Linked DNA regions of Homo sapiens: region 1 is linked to region 2. Evidence: promoter capture Hi-C in 16 types of primary human blood cells and fetal thymus (Javierre and others, 2016). All regions are on one chromosome and are shown on one strand. The core of a region is centred on a gene start or on the middle of the fragment in contact, and the rest is flanking DNA. Distances in the headings are between cores, read along the strand shown. Region 1 overlaps EEFSEC (eukaryotic elongation factor, selenocysteine-tRNA specific). Region 2 holds the start of LINC01565 (long intergenic non-protein coding RNA 1565).

Region 1 (6,239 bases), core at 553-3,052, 170 kb after region 2:
CACACCGCAGGCAGGGAGAGGCCTGAATCTGTGCCCTGGTGGCGGCAGCCACATTCGCCCTGTGTGCTCATCTTTCCTCCACACCTGATCTGGCCCCAGAGCCAGCTCCCATGGCTCCCATGGAAGCTCCCATGGACAGCTTCCATGGAACCCCATGCTTGGCACAGTGGTTCCACTGGGTCACATCACCCCTCATTTAGAAAGGGACAGTGACACACCCAAGGTCACCCTGCCCATGCAGGCCAGGACCTGGGGCTGAGCTCAGAGCTTTCTGTCCCAATGTGCAGGGACTCTGAGGGGGCTGGGGAGGGAGCGGTCAGGGAGGGTGTGGCCTGGCTCCCAGCTCAGCCCCACACTGAGGAGGAGGGAGGTTTCCTCGCCTAAGAAGTGAGTCCTTGGAGCTGGGTTCGGACCCAGTGCTGGCCCTCACCAGCAGCTCCCAGATCTGTGCTGGGAGGTGACCAGCCTGGACAGCACTGGCAAGTGCTCAGAGGGGCCTCTCCTGCCCCCAGGGACTGACAGGCTGGGGGCTGTGAGCCCAGCTCGGTGCTGACTGAAGCCCTCCTGGAGGTCTGCTCCCTTCTTGGGCTGCCCTCCCCTGGGGGACCAGCAGGCTAGCAGGGAGCCTGGTGTGGGCTCAAAGCTGCTGCCAGTTTCCTGGGCGGAGTGGCCTCAGTGAAGTGGCACTGCCTTCCTGGTGAAACAGTCTGCAGGGCCAGGTAGGGTGAGGAGGCCGTGGGGCACAGCACACAGTGGGGTCGGGGCACAGCACACAGTGGGGTCAGGCCCCAGGGAGAGGGGCCACTGCAGTCCCAGGAAGTGTCTGCTCAGGCAGCGGCAGTAGAGGGGGAGTCGGCTCCTAGGCAGAGGGCTGTCCTGATTCACAGTGCAGACAAGCCGCCCTGGCACCCGCAGCCTGCAGCAGCCGCGGAGGCCACGCTCACCGGGGCCACACTCTCTCTCACGTTCCTCCAGGGCCAATCCCCTCAGGGGACTGAACTGGGAACCCCACTTCCCCATGGCTCTCAGCTGTTGCCCTTGACTGCTGCTCCAGCCCTGCTGCCTGGGTCTGGGCCAAGGTTGACGAAGGGTGGCTGGGCCAGTCGCCATCGCTGGTATCCTTGCAGCTCGGGGGCTTTGCTCTGCTGTTGGTGTATTTAATTAACTGCCTGTTCCCCACCCACCACGTGCACACGGGACACACACACACACACACACACACGGCTCTGGGGCTTAACAGGCCCAAGTCATTTGATCGAAACCTGCCCCTGTTAATATTTTTAATGCCATTTGCAAATTAAAGCATAATGCACCGATTACTGGGATAAAAGGGAGGCCTCTGCGTCTGTCTGGAGACCAAATAAAGGAACGTTTGAACATCTGTTCATCCTGCAAATGTCTCTAAAAGCTTTGATTTCCCCTCAGTCTGTTGACTCCACCATTCACCCCTTCCTGAGTATCCCACAGCCTGGGGCTACAAGGCAGGGTGGTCTGTGGGTGCAGGGGATGGCAGATGGCTCTGCAGGGTGCCCTCACCATGCTAGCCTCCACTTTCTGGGAAGTATGTGGTTCTCAAACTTGAGGGCAGGGGCTGAGGGACTCCTCGTGTTGGGGTGGAGGAACAAGCCTCCACCTGCTCTGCCTGATGCTCTGGCCAGGCACCCTGCTATTCCCCAACTTCCCTGTGGGTACCTTCCCTGGACCCAGCTGCCCAGAGAATCCCCATTCTCCCTGAAGGCCCAGAGCGCCCCAGGAGCCACCTAGTGGGGTTGAGAAGCGCAGACACTCTGCAGACTCCCACAGCCTACAGACTCTGAGTTTGGGTCCCTTCCCTGGCCCCGACCTGGGCAGGAACTCTTGGGATTTCTGAGATTCCCCTTGGAACACAGCTGGGGAGGGCGGCGGACCTAGTGAAGTCACAGAGAGAGAGACACCAGTAGAGTGGGCTGGGGCCACGGGACATTTATTTGTAGCCATCAAGTGCCTGCCCACCTGGGGGAGGGTTGAGACTGGCCTGCAGGTGGCCAACAGATGGGGCAGTGGAAGATACTGGCTACCAGCCCTCTGCCCATGGCCCTTTCCTAGTTGGGCTGGGGGCTGTCCTGGGTGGGAGTGTGCAGGGGCTGGAGGAGAGACCCTCCTGGCCCCAGCAACCCATCCCCCTCAGCTCCTCACCAGGGCTCAGCACCAAGCTTGGGGGTGGGGGCTGCTGCTGCAGGACTGCAGGGAGAGACTGGGAGAGGCTGAGGCGTGGCTGGTTGGGATTTGGCACAGCAGCCTGGACTGGGCTGGGCAAGGAGGCCCTGGGGGAGGTCACCGGACACTCAGGGAGACTGAACCATGCGCTTGTGGGTGTCGAAGACATAACGCTTGAAAGTCAGGCTGAGCACCACATGCTGTGAGGGCTCGCTCCGCTCGGCGCTCTCCTCCTGCCTGGTGGCCTCCCCACGGCCAGCCCGGGCCCGCTTCTTGAGGGCGGGTGTCAGGATCTTCTTGGACTCGGGGCTGAGGCCACCTGCAAGGCACAGAAGAGAGCCTGTCACTCTGCCGTACCCCAAGCACCCGTGGGCTCCCTGCCCGCGCACCTGCTGCCTAGACTCACCCCTCTTCTGCCTCCCTCCCTAGCCAATCAGCCCTGAGGCCTGTGGTCCATTCTGACATTTTGGTCCCTCCGGCACCCATCTGATAGGTGTACAGCAGGGCACTGTGCCTCTTGGGGCCTCAGCTCACCACCCCCGTGCTCAGGCCCTGGAGGGACTGCTGCTCTGTGCCGAGTGGTCCATTGCTTTCCAGTGCACTCATGCCAAGTCCACGTCTGGAAACTCGGCATCTGAGGCTCCCTGGGTGGGGTACTCCCTGATTGCCTCTGGAGACCCATTCTCCACTTCTCCACCCTCTTGTGTGCCTGGGAGGCTGACCCCTGCAGACAGCACGACCAGGTTTAGCAGTGGAAGCCCCAACAGGCCAGAGTGTGGGAAGAGAGGGCAGTCAGGGTGTGTATCCCTGGCTCCCTTTGGCAGGCAGGACCTGGGCTGCCTTCACCCCCACCTGCCCTCAGTGGGATATGCAGGCTGCATACCCAGCTGCCCCAGTAGCAGTCCCAGGAACCACCACCCGCTGGGGCTCCCTGCCCCACGCCATTCTCACAGTGCCCCCTCGGCTCAGTTTGCCACTGCCCTGAGAGCTTGCTCCCATCAGGACACCCCAGTGGGGCCATGGGGCTCACAGAGTCAGTGGCTCATCCCGGGATCCTCTGCCAGGGGTATACGCAGCCCCGCCCCCAGGCTTGGGTGGGTGCAGCCCCCACCGCTTTCCAGCTACCTCTATGAGTTGCTTTAACCAGCCCACGCCTCACTAAAGACCTTTTGTTCAACTCCCTCCAGCTGAACACCTGAGTGGAAATTTGTTTTCTGCTGATGCCCCGACACGCACCCACTCCAACACCTCCATCTTCACCACTCTCTGCCTTTGTGCACCGTCTCTGCAGCCCTGCTGATCATGGCCCATTCCTGGGCTCCTCATTGCACATACAAGCCTGTCACGTGTTGTTCCCTCTGCCTGGAACACCCTTCCCATTCTAGGCAATAGAAGTCCCACTCATCCTTAAACATGCTGCTGCAACTGCCCTTTCTCTGGAGCTTGTCTTTTTCATTTTTAAATTGACAAATGACAAACTGTGTATATTTATAGTGTAATATATATATATGTATGTATATATATGTATATATATGTGTATATATATATATTTGTGTGTGTGTTGTGTGTGTGTGTGTGACAGGGTCTCACTCTGTTGCCTAGGCTGGAGTGCAGTGGTGTAATCCTGGCTCACTACAACCTCTGCCTCCTGGGCTCAAGTGATCCTCCCACCTCAGCCTCCTGAGTAGTGGGGACCACAGGCTCGTGCCACCATGCCTAGCTGATTTTTTGCATTTTTTTGTGGAGATGGGGTTTTGCCATGTTGCCCAGTCTAACATGATGTTTTAATATATGTATACATTTTGGAATGATTAAATCAGACTAATTAACACATTCATCACCTCACATACTTATTTTGGTGATGAGAACATTTAAAATCTATTCTCTTAGCAAATTTCATTGAATATTACACATTGTTATTAATTACAGTCACCATTCTGCACAGCGGATCTCCTGAATCGATTTCTCTGGTCTAACTGAAACTGTGAACCCTTTGACCAAGATCTCCCCATTCCCACCCCAGCCTGCACCCCCAGGCTCCCACAACCACCCTTCTACCCTCTGCTTCTATGAGTTTGGGTTTTGAGATACCACATGTAAGTGAGATCATCAGCATTTGTCTTTCTGTGCTGTGGGGCTTGTATTCATGAGGAATCTCCTGGTGGCAGCATGGTGCAGCCTCCATGTGGGCCACTGGCCAGGGTGAGACCACTTAGCAGGCTCCTCTGCATCTGTGGGAGTGGGTGGGCCCAGGGCTCGGAGCAGTTCCACCCCTGGCAGAGCACCTCAGTGTAAGCACTCACTCTGTGAGCCTCACAGCCCCACTGGGGGGTCCTGGTGGGAGCAAGCTCATGGGGACACTGTGAGAGTGGCATGGGACAGGGAGCCCCAGTGGGTGGTGGCTCCTGAGACTGCTGCTAGGGGCAGCTGGGTATGAAGGCACTGAGGGCAGGTGGGGGTGAAGGCAGCCCATACCCTGCCTGCCAAGGAGGTGTCCCACCAGGATCCCCTCCCCATGTGCACAAAGGGCCTGTACAGGCTGGGAACCTAGAGGACCAGAGCAGGGAGGAAGCTGGGCAGAGGCACAGGCAGAGGGCCCAGCTTCCTATGTGCCGTTGGCACCTGTGCCACTGCACCTGCTGGCACCTGAAGAATTTTCCTCCCTTTTCCCAGTCCTGCCCAGTACTAGCTTCGTCCCTGAAAAGTCAAGGCAGCTATAAGGCTCGCACATCAAGCTTCAGTCCGGAGGGCCCTGGCCTGTCGTCTCAGACTGGGAGCGCTGGCTGGCGGGGCTGTGTGGGTTATTTCTGGCTCAGTTTCCTGAAGATGTTGGCCACCCCTTCTTTATACGGATGAGAAAATGAAGGTCTAAGAGGCCAGTGACTTACTGGAAGCCCCACAGTGAGTTCAGAAGAGCCAGGATTTGAGCTACAGCCCTTACCCAATGGCAAAGCCAGCTTCTGCTCTCCACTCAGAGTGATGGGTGGGGGATACCCCTTTCAGAGGGCTTCTGACAATGGTTCTCAAGGCTGTGAGAGCATCGTGCACTGGCCCTGCAGCTCTAGATGTTTAAAAAGGTGACAAGGGCTCATGCCTGGAATCCTAGCACTTTGGGAGGCCGAGGTGGGTGGATCATGAGGTCAGGAGATCAAGATCATCCTGGCTAACACGGTGAAACCCCGTCTCCATTAAAAATACAAAAAATTAGCCGGGCGTGGTGGCGGGCACCTATAGTCCCAGCTACTCGAGAGGCTGAAGTAGGAGAATGGCATGAACCAGGGAGGTGGAGCTTGCAGTGAGCCGAGATTGCGCTACTGCACTCCAGCCTGGGCAACAGAGCGAGACTCAGTCTTAAAAAAAAAAAAAAAAAGTGACAAGGGTGCTGGATAAAGAGGCCATCTGTAGAGTCAGCCAGGGACAGCCTGCCCCACTGCACAAAGGGTCCGGTCTCCCTCTGGCAGGCGGAAGTGAGATTACTGGCCATCTAAAGCCTGAGTCCCCTGGGAAGACTGAGGACATGCAGCTGATATGAACGGGGCTCCAGAAGCCAGGCCCTTGCACGCCTGCCTGAGGGACATGTGACACTATGGCCTTGGGGACCTGCATTAAGGAAGCGCTCCCTGTGAGCAGCATACCTTACTTGGAGCCTGAGCGGTGTCTGCTCTGCAGGTTCCATACCTAGGTGGTCTGCCCCCCGCTTGGGATGGGGCACAGAGTGTGGGCATGGGGAGGACCCTGGCCAGTCCCCTCAAGTGAGCGCCTGGCCTGTAGGTATCTGACTCCCTGAATCAGAGCCTGGCCTTCCTTCTGCAAACAGAGCAGGTAGCTGGCAGCAGACCCCGACAAATGGCATGGGCAGCCCGTCTCCCTCTGGTGCCAGGAGGTCTGGAGGCTGAGAAGGCGTGGGGCTCCCCGGCGTCTGTGCTGGGCTGGGGAGACAGGCGTGGCCCAATCGGCAGTCCATCTCACCCGCGATGGCTCTCGTTACACACAATGCATACCTCGCACTGCCCGGAGCAGGCAGAGCCGGAAAGTCTATCTGG
Region 2 (6,318 bases), core at 608-3,107:
TCTTGGATCCCCTCCAGGCCTGTCAAGGCTTTCCTCGCTCCAGGCCCTTGCGGTGTGCGGGGCTGATGTCTCCTGTCATCCAGGGAGGGCTGCGCAGCCTCCAGCCCGCCTCTAATCTCCCCCTCCACAAAGGGCAGCCCTGTCACTCAGGGAGGCAGTGGGGGAACCTGGATCCGGGGCCACACAATGAACCATCCACCCTGCCTGAGTAGGAGGAAGCAGCCTAGCAGAGGTGGCTGTTGGGGCAGAGGGCAGGTGGGCAGGGGCCTGGGCAGAGAGGGTGAGAGCTCAGCCATCTTAAGCCACCGAAGTCAGGGAATCAAGCTTATTTTGGTGGAGTACACAAGTGGCATAGGCCAGGTGCAGTGGCTCACATCTGTAATCCCAGCACTTTGGGGGGCTGAGGCAGGAGGATGGCTTGAGGCCAGAAGTTCAAGACTAGCCTGGGCAACATGGCGAGACCCTGTCTCTGCAAAAAATAAAAAAAAAAAGCTGGATGTGGTGGCGCCCACCTATAGTCCCAGCTACTCAGGAGGCTGAGGTGGGAGGGTCACTTGAGCCCAGGAGGTGGAAGCTGCAGTGAGCTATGATTGCACCTCTGCACTCCAGCCTGGGTGACAGAGCGAGACCCTGTCTCCAGCAAACAAATAAATAAAACAAGTGGCACAGAGCAAGCTGGCCAATCCTGGTAGTGCTGGCTAATGGTTAGTGCAGAGGGGGCAGTCTCGGTGGCTGACTTGGAGCCATCCTACAAAAATGAGGGAGGTACCTATAGAAATAGGGTCAGCTTCCCCATCCTCCACCAGACTCCAGAATTCTTCCTCAGCCTCCTGCATTAGTGGTGATGAAAAACCGATGCAGGGATGCAGGGGTGGAGTGAGCAAGCCGAGACCAGCCTGGTGCCCAGGGTCAGGAGCCTGCTCTTTTGAGCCTCAGTCCCCTGTGTGTCCACAGGAAGCACAGTGCCTGCTGCCTGGGGGGGCCTGAAGACACAGGATGGGTCCCCGTTGTGGAGGTGCCCGGGCAGCACCTGCATATAGCAGGTGCTCACTGTTGGTGTTGGCATGGTGGCACAGAGCAGAGGTGGAAAGCAATGTGCCGCCTGCAGACAGGCTTTTGTGACCTACCCCGTGTCTAGAAATGTATCTTCTGAGTTACTAACAAGGAAAAATGTGGCCACACAAGGTCCACCTTACTTCAAGGCATGGCAGGCTGGGTAGAGCAGTGCTGCCCTTGGAGATGGCACAGGGTCCCCCCTGCCTGCACCCCTGGGTTCTCCTCCACCTCCTGCCACTCCCCCTTTGTACACCAGCTGGTGACACTCAGTCACAAGCTTTCGTTGGCTCCTGAGACATTTGAGGTTGAGAGCTCTGGGACCTGGAGCAGACTCGGGTTTGCATCCCACCACTTCATTCGCGACCTGTGTAGTCAACCTTGCTGAGCCTCAGCGTCCTTATCTGTAAAATGGGACTCACGATCTTCACCAAATGAAAACAAGCATACATCACCTGCCCCTGAACCTGGAAGAGAGAGCGGATTCCCAACCAAAGAGAAGACACATTGCTGAGGCTGCCTCACCATGGCTCACTGCTGACAGCATGGTGTGCACTCCACAGGGCTCAGCTTTCCCCGTGGGTGGGCAGCGTGACCCGGGCAAGCAGGCAGGGCTGCCAGGGCCTTGGCCTCGGCCCAGCACGGAGCGGGCAGGGGCTGTGGCCAAGGGTCTCTGGAGGAGGCCACGTCTCTGCAGAGGAGACCCCTCCTGAAACACCCTCCAAGCTGGAAGCTGGCCCCTCAGAGGGGAAAACAGGTGCCGTGGGCGACTCTGAGCTCCCCACTGTAAATTAATCCACCCGAGCAATTGGGAACAGAAAGTGCTTCCTGTCCCGGCCTGAGACAATGGACAATAAACCCAGCCTGCTGGGCCCCGGCCCCTGACCCCAAGGCTTCAGGAAGAGGCTCCCACACGCACACACCTGCGGTGTGTGAAGCTCGCATTGTTCTGGGCTCATGGCCGAGTAGGGCCCCTTGCTCTCAGGAGCCTCCAGCTCTTTCTGGACCTGAGCCCTGGGAGCCTTCACTCTGCCCAGATGTGCTTCCTGTGGAAGGAGACCCCCAGATGACACAGGTGAGCAAGCGTCCTTGGGTTCGGGTTCATTTGATGCGTATTCTTGAAGCCCCTACCACGCACGGGGTCTGCACACCAGCAGCACAGTACAAAGCCTTTCCAGAAAGGCTGTGGTCTCACACCTAGCACCAGACAGCACACGGGCCTGCCCTTCTCCTCCTAGCACACAGACAGGGCCATATACATCCTGCTGGGGAAGGCCCGGTGGAGGCGGCTCCTTGGAGTGAAAGGCCCTGAAATGCCAGAGGCTCCTGGGATGTGAGGTTCCTTCTGGATTTCTGAGGCTGATAACTGAATACTCTCGACTCGAATAGATGATGAGCTTGTGGAACATCGTGTGCATGTGCACGCCACCACGAAGTTAGTAATCAATCTTGCTTGCTGGGGCCATGTGTGTGTCCACATTTTGTCTTTTAATTTTTTTTGAGATGGAGTCTTGCTCTGTCACCCAGGCTGGAATGCAGTGGCATGATCTTGGCTCACTGAAACCTCTGCCTCCCGGTTCAAGCAATTCTCCTGCCTCAGCCTCCTGAGTAGCTGGGATTACAGGTATGCGCCTCCATGCCCAGCTAATTTTTGTATTTTTAGTAGAGATGGGGTTTCACCATGTTGGCCAGGCGGGTCTTGAACTACTGACCTCACGATCTGCTCACCTCAGTCTCCTAAAGTGCTGGGATTACAGGCATGAGCCACTGCGCCTGGCCTCTTGTCTTTTAATTTTATTTTGAGTTGGGGTCTCACTCTGCCACTCCGATTGGAGTGCAGTGGTGCTATCATAGCTCACTGCAGCCTCAACCTCCTGGGCTAAAGCAATCCTCCCACCTCAGCCTCCTGAGTAGCTGGGACTACAGGCATGCACTGCCATTCCTGGTTAGGTTTTAAACATTTTTGTAGAGATGGGGTCTTGCTACGTTGCCTGGGCTGGTCTGAAACTCCTGGGCTCAAGTGATCCTCCCACCTCGGCGTCCCAAATTGCTGGGATTACAGGCATGAGCCCCACACCCACCTCAATGTCTTTTAAAGTCATTAAAAGACAATTATTTTGTCTTTTTTTTTTTGAGACAGAGTCTCTCTCTGTCGCCCAGGCTGGAGTGCAGTGGCACGATCTCGGCTCACTGCAAGCTCCACCTCCCGGGTTCACGCCATTCTCCTGCCTCAGCCTCCTGAGTAGCTGGGACTACAGGCACCCGCCACCACAGCCGGCTAATTTTGTTTTTGTATTTTTAGTAGAGATGGGGTTTCACCGTGTTAGCCAGGATGTTCTCGATCTCCTGACCTCATGATCCGCCCGCCTTGGCCTCCCAAAGTGCTGGGATTACAGGCGTGATCCACTGCACCCGGCCTCATTTTGTCTTTTAATGAATAATGGACTAGCACAGCCTTAGAGAAGGAAAGAGCAGAGGTTCTATGTCCAGTCAGTGGGGAACTGGGAGATTCATTCCGAAAGGCTTTGAGGAGGAACCGGGCCCGGGTCACTCTTTGAAAGGGTGGCTCTCCCATTTTTCCTGCAGAAAATCTGAGCAGTGGGTGAGGCCGAGGGACTGCCCAGAGCCCCAGAGCACGGCAGTGGGCAAGCAGTCGTCCCTGTCCTGGGCATCCCTGTGGCCATGGAGCTCCTGGGTGAGCAGCTGCTCTGAGACAAGTCTGGTGAAGAATACAGCAGGACTCCTGAACATTCTTCCTTAAATGCTTATCTGTGGAAACCAGAACTGCCCTTGGCGCGTGGCTCGTGGACGTGCTGGGTGGCTGGGTGGGGCGGGTGCACGGGTGGAGCCTCAGCTCTGTTTCTTTCTCTGGGTAGTGTCCCCACTGCTGGGCTTCTCCCGCTCTCAGCTCTCTGGGGAGGTCCCCTGTGAAGGGCCTGTCTTTCCTGTCCCCTCCCTCGGATCATTAATGAACCACTCTCTCTCTCTTTTTCCTTTTCAGTGATTGGGCTGTCGGAATCAAAGAGGCCCTCCGGTGACTCAGGCGTTTCCCATTGCCCTATTCTAGCATCCTCTACTCTTAGCACTGAGAGTTTTTCACGTCCTATTTGGAACTGATAGGAAACCCTTTCATTGTTTCGCTACATGGATATTAGCACTGATGAAGGAAGCGCTCCATCAGATAGTGGTCCGCTGCAGTGAGCTGGTTTCCAGCACGAGCCTGCCTAGACTCAGCGTCTCCCGCCTCCAGGGACCCCCAGACTCTCAGCCCCTAGGCACCCTGGGCCAGGGTGGTTGGAAGCTTCTAGGCATTGTGGGGTCTCTGGCACCAGAGACACTCGGGGGTCTGGGGACCGAGTTTGGGCCCTGTACCCACCCACTACCATTTGACATGGTGAGAGAGAGAGAGAGAGATGACGAGCTCAGGCAGGGATGGCTTCTCCAGTGCCCACAATGTGCCAGGACTCTGCTGTGCCACTGTGGGCCTTTCCTCACCCCTCCCTCCCAGACATCAAGCTCTGGTTTCCAGCTGTGTTCCTTGAAGCCGTCGGGCTCTCTGGTGACAGCCACAGAGCCTCTGAGCAACTTTGCTTTCAGCTATTTTCCATGACCCAGTCCTGGGTAAGGCTTCATTTGAATGAAGGGTTCTGCTGCTAAAAAAAAAAAAAAAGTCGGAAAAACCACCTGATCACAACTTTCTAAGGCAGCTATTTTGTTTTGCAATGAGATATTTGCAGTGGTTTCACTAAAGCCTGATCTTCCCACTGGACTGTCGGCCTGTGAGGATGAGGACGTGTCTATCACAGTCAGTATGCCCTGAATGAATGGGTGTCACCCTCCTCCCCCTAGTGAGAGATAAGGACCTCAGGCTCAGAGAGGTTATGTGGTTTTCTCAAAGCCACACAGCAAGATTTGGCAGGTGAGCCTTACTTCTCTTCCTGGGCTAGCCTGCGGTCAGGGGCAAGGCTTTTGGATGATAAGAGTGAGGTGCAGTCAGCTCTAGATTGGGGGTGGCAGAGGGAAAAGGAGGGGGGGTTCCCAAAGCACCATTCTGCTTTCTGTGAGAAGGGATTTCCCCTCAACAACTTCTGTCCCATTTTTCAGAGCTAAAGTGACAAGCCACATCCACGTCCCTGGTTAAAGGTGCTCCCCCTGCAGGAAACACATGTGCACTTGGGATGGAGCCCTCTGTGCGGGAGCGGCTTGCTCACCTCTCAGCCAGTGCCAGCTGGGTGGGTCTCTCCCAGCTCTCGAATCCTAACTGCAGCCACCATTTATTCAGCACCTGTTATGCACCAGGCACTTTATGTATCTTATTGCTAACCCTCAAAACAAGCCCTTCCCAACATAAGCGCTTTTGTGCCAAACCCATAGGTCTGAAACTGAGACCCAGAGAGGCTGAATGACATGCTCACAGTCACACAGCAGGCAGTGGCAGGCAGTAGTGAAGTCGGCTCTATGGATTGTATACCTGGGCTCCTCCAGGCCTCTGCGCTGCCCGGCCTGATACCCTAGCAGGTTGGGTATTCAGAGGTGCCTGGGGAGCTTGTTAAAAGTGTAGATTCCAGGCCTCCTTACCCTTAGAGACTGTGACTCAGTATCCGGGGCAGGGCCCAGGCATCTTCATTTTGACAGGCCGTCCCGGTGGCTGCCATGCGCAGGCAGGTTTTAGGAACATCATGGGTGGATGATTCCTGGTCTCCCCAGCCCTCTTGACCTGGCCACAGAGAGCTGCCTTTCCAGCGAGGTCAGCCGAGATGACGCTGCCGGGAGAGCAGTCTTCTCTGTAGTCCCCGGAGGGGACTCCTCGGAGGAAGGATGAGTCTGAGGGTTCCGGTTGTCTTGGCCTGAGACCACCCAAGGTCTTTTAACAGAAAAAAACTTTACCCATTCCCAGTGTTGATTTCATACCTTTATTTTATATATCTATTTTTATTGTGGTGAAATACATATAACAATAAAATTGCTGGGCGTGGTGGCTCACGCCTGTAATCCCAGCACTTTGGGAGGCCGAGGCGGGCGGATCACGAGGTCAGGAGATCCAGACAATCCTGGCCAACATGGTGAAACCCTGTCTCTACTAAAAATACAAAAAAATAGCCGGGTGTGGCTGCACACACCTGTAGTCCCAGCTACTCAGGAGGCTGAGGCAGGAGAATCGGTTGAACCTGGGAGGTGGAGGCAGCAGTGAGCCGAGATCGCACCACTGCATTCGAGCCTGGGCGAAAAAGTGAGACTCCATCTCAAACAAAACAAAACAAAACA

Evidence for each region. The method cuts DNA at HindIII sites, captures the fragments that hold promoters and counts their contacts. A CHiCAGO score of 5 or more calls a contact.
Region 1: a contact is called between a fragment that was not itself captured here and the fragment with the promoter of LINC01565 in region 2, in 1 of 17 cell types (endothelial precursors). The highest score is 6.2, in endothelial precursors.

What each region holds. Positions count from the first base shown.
Region 1 is chr3:128,404,345-128,410,583 of GRCh38, reverse strand. EEFSEC (eukaryotic elongation factor, selenocysteine-tRNA specific) reads right to left here. Exons shown (of 7, transcript NM_021937.5): 7 at 1,938-2,515. The coding sequence ends at 2,325. Among named protein-coding and RNA genes, the nearest start is that of DNAJB8-AS1, 56 kb to the left of the region's middle. RefSeq lists enhancers at 639-1,287, 2,469-3,350. The HindIII fragment of the contact is 784 bases long and covers 1,411-2,194 here.
Region 2 is chr3:128,571,625-128,577,942 of GRCh38, reverse strand. It overlaps LINC01565 (long intergenic non-protein coding RNA 1565), which reads left to right and starts at 1,857. Exons shown (of 3, transcript NR_125802.1): 1 at 1,857-2,128; 2 at 2,557-2,677; 3 at 3,640-5,943. The HindIII fragment of the contact is 3,021 bases long and covers 1,336-4,356 here.